2 separate regions of the Homo sapiens genome follow, and region 2 is linked to region 1. Evidence: promoter capture Hi-C in human tissues and cell types (Jung and others, 2019). All regions are on one chromosome and are shown on one strand. Each heading gives the region's core, a stretch centred on a gene start or on the middle of the fragment in contact. The rest is flanking DNA. Distances are from core to core; before and after follow the strand shown. Region 1 holds the start of PLS1 (plastin 1). Region 2 overlaps SLC9A9 (solute carrier family 9 member A9).

Region 1 (4,346 bases), core at 49-2,548:
GTATTGCATTGTATAAATATACCACAATTTGTTTTTTCATTTACATGTTGTTGGACAGTTGGGTTCCTTCTGGTTTGGGGCTTTTGTGAAAAACAGCTGCTATGAGCATTCCTGTTCAAGTTTTTGTGTAAGCATATGTTTTAATTTCTCTTGGATAACATCTAGGAATGAAATGGCTGGGTCATATGTTAGATGTATGTTTACCTTTTAAGGAAATATTTTGCTTTATTTTGTGAGAACTTACTTAACTCCCCTTGCATATCTAGATAAATAAGTATCAGATAAGGATACTAAATTTACCAGATTCTCTAGGTGGCAGGTGGGAAAAATCAGATAAGAATACTAAATTCACCTGATTCTCTAGGTGGCAGGTGGGAAAAATTCCTTATCTTCCCTCTCCATGGCCCACCTACTTTCATAGTTCATTGCTCGTCCAATTTGTTTGAGTTCTTAAAATAATTTCAACTTCCCCCCTTTATTTTTTCTATTGTTACCATCTCAGGGTTGGTTGGGTGCCTATTCTGTATTGGATATTGTGTTAGGCGCAGAAGGGGCACGTGGGACTTTGAGTTAAAGGGGCAGCAAAACCTTGTTCTGTTCTCTGGACTGAGTTGGACAGACCACAACTACGGATTATGCTTCAGGCAAAGTATGTGAGAACTCTTGAGGCAGCATTCCATTTACCTGACTCACATGCGAGAGAAAATATCCCACTTTTGTTTGAGTGTGGGCTTTAGTTATATATTTATTTTAATCAGGTGTGGCTGTTAAAGGAAAAGGAAGCAATCCGTGAAACAAACGGAAAAAAAAAGAGTAGGGGAGAGAAACAAGTCTTCCTTTAATAACGTATACCTTTCCTTTTGACCAGCAGGTCCCAAAGTGTGGTACCCAGACTAGTAGCACCAGTTTTCGCTGAGAACATGTTAGAAATGGGAACTGTCGCGCTACGCTCCAGACCTAACTGAATCGGAAACTCAGTTTCCGGGTTTGGGATCTGTGATTTAAAAAGCTCTCCAGGTGATTCTGATCCACGCTCAAGTTTGAGAACTGCTGTGCTAAACTCATTCCCAGGGTGTAGGTGGTCATCTTTAGACTTGGGTAACTGTGGGCGGTAGAGATAACGTTGCCGCAGCGCCCGTCCACCTCTCCCCATCCACGCTCCCAGCGCCTGCAACTCCTCTTTCACCCTTAGCCTAAACCCAGGTTCTGGGCTTCCCTTTCCCTCCCCTGGGAGCCGCAGGCAAAACGCGGCAAGTGGATTCAGAGTTTGCGGGCCCGGGTGCCGGCCGAGCATGCGCAGTGGCGCGAGCGCAGCGGCTACGCGGGCGCGGAGAGGTAGCCGCAGAGTGGACCTGCAGGTACTTGGATCTCCAGTGGGAGCTGCCCTCTCGAAGGCAGGACAGCGGTGGCGGCAGGTACGCGGGGGTGGGGATAGGGCCCAAAAGGAAGGCTGGACAGACAGATGGAAAGCGAAGCGTTACTCCTTTGGGGGCGCGCGGCGGCTCGGGGGCAGTATCTCCGGGTCCCCTCGCTCGCGTCTCGTCTCCTGGCTGTGCAGTGTGGCGCCCGCCGTCCTCTGGGCACGCTTCTGCCCAGTCCCGGCAGGCAGTGCCCGCAGGTGTTAAATCGCGTATTTACACTGCTTAAACAATAAGCCTGTTAACTGAATTGTGATTCTATGCAATGAAATAAGGTATTTCATTAAGTTTTCTTCTTTCAACTTTGGGTGGCTGCCGGTGAGGCTTTCTGAACCAGCCTGTTTTGTTTTAATTCTGGGACTGGTTTATTTGCCTTTGGCCTTTTGGTGCATAGGATCAATAGGGCTGTAGTGAAATCCCATCCGTGCTGTTTTTGGTACCTTTCCTGGAGCATAGGGACCTCTGGATGCGGCATAAAAATGTCAGTTTTCAGCGAATTTCACTGCCAAAAAACTTTCCGTGTTTCAGCTGCATTTTCAAGTGGAGACTTAAAAAAATTTAAGATTTCTCCCTAACTTTTCAATTATTACTGTATTTCGGTCTTCATTTGGTACTATTAAAAGGAAGCGGTCGTTTAGATGAGTAACAGAATTCTCACTTTTCCTCCTTTACTTACTTACTATGTCACATTTTATGGCTTATACCGTGATATCTTTCCCTCCAGCCACGGTGTTGGATACACTTGTATGAGGCTTCAGCTGTGCTGCATAAATTTCTTGAAGAACCTGTGAGCCAGAAGCAAAATTTCAGGACAGGGGGCACACACTGAACTTGAAGCAAGTACTTTTACACCCCCCACCACCTTTGTAATCAGCTTTCCTTTAAGTTGAATTATGTAATGAAATTCTATAGTAAAGTGTTAATGTGTAATGTGGAGGCATATATATATATAGAGAGAGAGGTAGTAAGTTTAGGAAGAGGAAATTTTAAGTTCAGGAAGAGAAACCTATATGGAAAGGGAATACAGGTATCCTGCCCCCCTTCATTCCTCCCATGATAAATGTTTTAATGGCAGAAATAATATACAGCTGGTCTAGTTTTGGCTGTAGAGACCTTTGAGGTCAGCCAGTTCAGCTGCTTCAGTTTACAAATGAGAAAACTGAGACCAGCGAGGTTAGATGACTTGCTGTGGCCACCCAAGCCCCTCATTGGCAAAGCTAGGCCTGGGATCCAGGTTTTCTCATTTTCTGGGGTCTTTTTACCACTCCCTGCAGATACTCTTCTTTACCTCCATTATTAAACTTCCTTTTTCTCTTCTACTTATACCATGAAGTCTGGCTTAAGCAGAAAATTAGTTGTTTCTCTTACTAAGCTTCCTAGTACCTCATAAATTCCTTTCAAAAAGTGCCCTTTCACTGAAGCCCCACCTAACAATTTGCTGGTCCTGAAAACGCCCTCCTTCCTTCCCTCAGTCACCTGGGCCCTTTGCCCAAAATGCCTGTTTGCCTCCCTCTTTCCGTATTGAAGTCCTGCTCATGCTGCAAGGTGTAGCTCAGGTGTGACCTCTTTTTGGAAGCCTTCCTTGATTGCCTTAGCATGAAGTAGCTCTCCCTCTTCTGAACCCTATAGCACTTACTACTGTTGTTTGTGCTGTTAGTATCCCCATTGTATATAGTATCCTGAGTATTTTAGCACCTCCCAACTTCCCGACCAGGAAGTTGGCAGGTTGTGTAAGCTCTTGGAGGTTAAAGCCTATGACTTAAACATCCCACCCAGCACTAAGCACAAAGTATATTCTTAGCCCCTGTTTGTGGGAGGGAGTGGGGGAAGGAAGTGCAGTATGTATAGTTTTGTAAAGAGATTTCATGTGTGTTCTATAATATGGGGAAGGCCATGTTAGAGCTGTATCAAGACAGCAGCCAAGTCCATTTCTGATTCCTCATATTTTGATAACAGATCACAGATTAGTTAGGGGGATTACAGGAGACAGGCGTAAAAACACGGGTCAGTTGGTCCAGGCCCTGGATTAAGCCTGTGACTCAAAGTGGAGAAAAGAGGGCACAGAATTAAGAAATGTAAAGGAAGAAGCATGTGGTGAAAGACTAAATGCAGAGAAGGAAAGACATGTTGAAAATGAATTTCAGGGTTGGGGTGTTAGTAATGGGTTTATAATGTTCTTTTTATCTTAAAAGTACCTCCAATTGGCTGGGTGTGGTGGCTCACGCCTGTAATCCCAGCACTTTGGGAGGCCGAGGTGGGTGGATCACAAGGTCAGGAGATTGAGACCATCCTGGCTAACACGGTGAAACCCCATCTCTACTAAAAATACAAAAAATTAGCTGGGGGGGCATGGTGGTGGGCGCCTGTAGTCCCAGCTACTTGGGAGGCTGAGGCAGGAGAATCGCATGAACCCGGGAGGCGGAGCTTGCAGTGAGCCAAGATTGTGCCACTGCACTCCAGCATGGGCGACAGTGCAAGACTGCATCTGAAAAAAAAAAAAAGTACCTCGAATTGTGACATTGTCTCTGTTTCTTAGTTAGTGATGTAATTGTCTTATTTCCCGTTCTAGATGATAAGCTCTCTGAAGGATGACCTTTAACCCTTCACAATACCTGGCACATTGCTTTGCAGTATCAGACACTCAATAGTTATTACATGAATGAATGAATAAATAAATAAATAAATAAATAAATAAATAAATAAAAAGTGCATTTTGCCATGGGGAGGGTGGGCATTTAGGATCTTAGAGCTATATGGTAGCGCTTTATCCAGACTATCCCCTAATTGTATAGAGGAGGGACTCAGATATTCTTTTTTTTTTTTTTTTTTTTTTTTGAGATGGAGTCTCGCTCTGTCGCCCAGGCTGGAGTGCAGTGGCGCAATCTCGGCTCACTGCAAGCTCCGCTTCCCAGGTTCACGCCATTCTCC
Region 2 (4,970 bases), core at 1,175-3,674, 1.1 Mb after region 1:
CAGCAGCAGCAAGAACGTATACTCTTACTAAATATGTAAGACGTGTTCACATGCTCTGTTAATATTTTACATGCATTCTCTCATTTAATCCCTATAAAAACCCTATGAGAATGTATGATGGATTTTTAATTTTTTACATAGTAACATTTTATTCCATGCTTTTTGGTGCATTTCCCTTTATTACAGGGGTTGGAAGACCAAAAACTACATTTCCTAGACTCTGTTACCACTGATATGCTGCATGCAATTTATATTTTGCCATCTAGTGAGATGCTCTATTGCTAGACTTGGGAGACAGGAAGAAGTCAGAAGCCATTCTTCCTTCTGCAGTAGCAGATATGTGGGCCTTAACAGAAATTACTCTTACAATGGCCTCTGAATTCCCTTCCAGCCACATGCCACAGGGCTTAGGGCAGTACCGGATAGTCACAAGATTTCCTACAGTCCTTTGCCTCTGGATGGGGTCATTAATTCCCTCACTCTCTGGGACACTGATATAAAATCTAGTGGCCACACCTTGACTTCCCCCTCTAGCCGTTACAACGGTTTTGTAACCTCCTAAATATTATTACATCCTTTTCTGTTTGTGATACCTAGAGTGGATATGTTTCCCTAGTGAAACCCTTATTGTTATAGTTAAATAATAATATTATTCCTGGGCTGTTTTTACTCCAGCAACCAATCCTCCAGTTCTCTGAATACCAACCAGGTATCCAACAATTAAATTCAATTCTGGTACTATCTACCTGGAGTTAGTGTCACATTCCACAAGGTAAAGGACCCAGTCCCATAAGACTGCCTCCATTATAGATGCCAGTTCCAAGACCCAGGACACTTGTAGTTCTGACCCACTGTCTAGAAATTGGAAGTCCCCAAGACCCACTTTTCAGATCAAACATTTTCTGCAATAGCTCACAGAATTTAGGAAAGTACGTTACTTACAATGACTTGTTTATTATAAAAGATGCAGCTCAGGACCAGCCAAATGAAAGAGATGCACAGGAGAAGGCATGTGCAGGTATGCAGCTTTCATATCCCCTCTGGATATACCACCTTCCTAGTACACTGATGTGTCCTTCAGACTGAAGCTCTCTGAACCCCATCTTTTAGGAGTTTTTATGGAGTCTCCAAGTCATAGGCTTGATTGGGTAAATCACTGGCCATTGGTGAATGAACTCAATCTCCAGCCTGTCTCTCTCCCCTCTCCTGGGGTTGAGTGGTATAAGGTAAGTGGTGAAGCTGAAAGTTCCAACCCTCTAATCATGCCTTTGTCTTTCTGAAGACCAGTCCCCACCCTGCAGCTCTCGTGGGGCCCAGCGAGTCACCTCATTACTGTAAATGCAAGTATAGATGAAAGGGGATTGTTATGAATAATAATGAGCTTGTCATCACTCCTGTCAATCAGAAATGATTTTGTCATCACTTCTATCACGCAGAAAATGCCAAGGGTTTTAAGAGTTCTGTGCCAGACACCAGGGAAAAGACCAAGTATATATTTCCCGTTATCCCATAACTTCCATATCATAGTGAAGGACACAAAGGGATTAAAAAACTTAATTAAGACCACCTGGCTAGAAAGTGTTAGCGCTGAGGTTTGTGTTACACATGCTAAAAATCTGAGATACTTTTCTATGAAAGAAAAGAATTACAACAAAGATGATGTTGATAATTGTCACTTATTTACAAAGTTAATACATTCTTACTAGTCTTACTTTATTTTATGATCAATAACCACAATAAAAATAAGGAAGTCCAAGGTCTAAATTTCATTTCATTTCATTTCTCCAAAAATTTTATTTGAAGCTTTTGCCTTCAGGCAATGATATTTTCTATAATAACATATTCAGGGTTAATCTGTCCTTTTGTTTCCCTTAAGCCACTGCCTGAACAACTAGACCAGTGGTTCTCAGTGTGCTCTCTATACCCACAGCTTCAGTATCTCCTGGGAATTTGTTAGAAATGAAAACTCTCAGGCCCCACCCCAGACTTACTGAATTTGAAGTTACTTACTGGAAGTAAGCCTCAACCATTTATGCCTCAATGAACCCTTCAAGTTTGTTTGCTTGTTTTTATCACTGTCCACATCCATGTTGAGATATTTTGGTCCTATCCATGTTCTATCCAAGATGCTATTTCTCAGTCGGGTTTCCATATGGTGAGTCAGAGCAAGAGCATTGCCATCAGGACTGTGTTATTGAAGATGCTGACAAAGTCCAACTTCTACTAAGAGATCCTGGATATCTCTAGATTATGCCATTTAAAGAAGCCGCCAACTTGGTGAGAAGTAGCAAAGTTATGGATTAACTGTTGCTTCATGTAGCATAAAACTGTATGAGACTAAAGGAAGGAGAGAAGCATTGCTACTTTAGACAAAAAAATGAGAGAGAGAGATATATATATAGCCAAATTATTGTTTTGAAATGCCAAGAATGTTGGAGGTTAGGGCTCTGAAGCTGAAGTAGGACTTTCAATGAGCAATGCATTAGGTAGCATGTAAATGGATCCTGTGCATAAATTAATTCTGGATTTCCCAAATTACAGCCATTCCTCTGTTACTGTCAATTTTCATTAATATGGCTCAGTTTTAAAATTAAGCATAGTGATATTTGTCCTAATTAATAATGTTTTTGAAATCATAGTTCAGTAGGCTAGTTATATGTTTCTTCTAGTAAAATTAAAATAAATGCATATTTAATAAAATAAGTCCATTAAAAACATCTTCCATACAATTAGTGATATGCTTTGATAAACACAAGATTAATTTATTTAATAAATGATCATACCTCCCCATTGGGAAATTCCAGGAAAGAATGCAGACTGACAAGAGAATCTAACTGTATTATAAATGTATAAAACACCTCATTAAAGGGGATAGGAGAAAAGCTGACCTAAAAGATTTTGGAAATGCAGTCTGTAAGACTAAAGCCAAAGGGAACTACACATTAAGTACTGTACTGTAGTTGATAAAGTAGTTTTCCACAGAGATACAGGTTAAAAATTCTGATACTACTATTCATGTGTATTGGAGTTAAACAATTAAGTAAATGGCTTCTCACGGTTGCAGTGAAAATTTACAGATCAGCAAGGGGAGGAGGCTAGAATGTAGATTAGATTAGAGTTGGAGACATCAGCAAGAACTCATGTTTAACTTAATATAGGTATAGCTGCTTACATATAGAATGATTTATAGATATGTATATATATGCACATTAGTATACACACATATATTTCTTTCCTATGTCATCTGAGAGGGTCTAAAAGAAACCACCCAAGATCCTGGTTTCTAATCTCATTCTCCAGTAAAAGGAATTAAGCTTCTTTGGAGAAATAGCTGTTCCTAACACTGGGTAGGAAATATATAGCATAAGCCTGGAGTATTTTGTAGTATCAGAAAGTAAGAAAGTGACTCTCCCCCCAAAAAATCACCCCATTATGTCAAAGGGGCACAGAAACCAATAGAAGGAAATACCAACGGCCAAAGCTAAAATAGCTAAAATACCTGGAGCAACAAAATAAATAATATTGGATTATTAATCAAAATATAAAACAAACATCCACAAGTCCACACTGATATAAATAAAGAATTGTATAAATTAATAAATGGATGGTAAGAGACAAATCTCTTTATGCAGAAGATGTTTCTTAAATGCAGATACTCCAGAAGGTTAAGTAGGGGAATGTAACTTGTCACTTTGTAAGTGTGGGTTATGCATAATGACTTCCTTACAAAGAGTACACTATGGAAAGAGGGAAAAATCGTAACTCTACAGTGGAGAAACCTGACAAACACTACCTCAGCCAAGTGATCAAGGTCAACATCAATAGTCATAAATTATGCTGACAGTATGTAGTCTTTGATATGATGTGATGAAAATGGCACTTTACGTCGGTGATCTTCCCCCTAACCCATTGAAACCACCTTTGCAAAATTATGACTGAGACAGTGAAAGAGATCTAACTTAACTGACTCCATCTTTCTTCTAACCTCCAAGCTGCCCTTGTTCATTCCTGGGCGTAGGCTGAGTTAACTTTGGGAGAAACTTAGCTTATAGTTTATAGTTTAAACAAAGATGGTAACAGCCCTTTCTCAAAGCAGACCTCCTTCTTGCCTGGAGACTAGATTGCCTTTGTAGGACTAACATTAGCCACAAGATTAGAAATTATGGTTTAGGAGTCAAGCAGCTAGAGGCTACAAGATTCTGACCCTCCTTAAACTGCTCTTAAGATCAGTGCTGGAGATATTTTGCAGACCCTGCACTTGATGGATCAGCTGGCACCACCCAGATCAATAAACTGGCTCATCTGATCTTGGGGCCCTACCCAGGAACTGACTCAGCTCAAGAAGACAGTTCGAACTCCCTAGGATTTAATCTCTGACCAATCAGCACACCTGGCTCACTGGCTTCCCCCAACCCACCAAGTTATCCTTAAAAAACTCTGTTCCTCCAATGCTCAGGGAGACTGATCTGAGTAATAATAAAACTCCGGTCTCCCACACAGCCGGCTCTGCGTGAATTACTCTTTCTCTACTGCAATTCCCCTGTCTTGATGAATTGGCTCTGTCTAGGCAGTAGGCAAGGTGAACCTCTTGGGTGGTTACACCATAACCCCAGTCTAATCATGAAAAAATATCATATGTATTTCAGTAGAGGGCCAATTTACAATATATCTGACCAGTAGTCCTAAAAGTTATCAAAGTTATCAAAAACAGAAAACGTCTGAGAAACTGTCACAGCTAAGAGGAGTCTAAGGAGAAATGACAGCTAAATATAAGGTGGTGTTCTGAATGGGATCCTGGGACAGAAAAAGAACACTAGGTAAAAACTAGGAAAGTCAAATAAACTATCAATTAATAATATACCAAAATTTAGTTTATAACTAAGTACAATGTTTGTTCATTAGTTATAACAAATGTACAAAATTAGTGTAAGATGTTAATAATCAGTGAAGCTGTGGGGTGTGGGAGGGTG

The links. The method cuts DNA at HindIII sites, captures the fragments that hold promoters and counts their contacts. A contact is called where the count stands out against the background at its distance.
Region 2: a contact is called between a fragment that was not itself captured here and the fragment with the promoter of PLS1 in region 1, in 1 of the 25 tissues and cell types used here (IMR-90 fibroblasts).

The regions. Positions count from the first base shown.
Region 1 is chr3:142,595,095-142,599,440 of GRCh38, forward strand. It overlaps PLS1 (plastin 1), which reads left to right and starts at 1,299. Exons shown (of 16, transcript NM_001145319.2): 1 at 1,299-1,415. PLS1-AS1 (PLS1 antisense RNA 1) reads right to left here. Exons shown (of 4, transcript XR_001740938.2): 4 at 815-2,203. RefSeq lists an enhancer at 1,355-1,594. The HindIII fragment of the contact is 14,749 bases long and covers 1-4,346 here.
Region 2 is chr3:143,737,862-143,742,831 of GRCh38, forward strand. The region is part of intron 4 of SLC9A9 (solute carrier family 9 member A9); the gene reads right to left. Among named protein-coding and RNA genes, the nearest start is that of SLC9A9, 110 kb to the right of the region's middle. The HindIII fragment of the contact is 5,662 bases long and covers 1-4,970 here.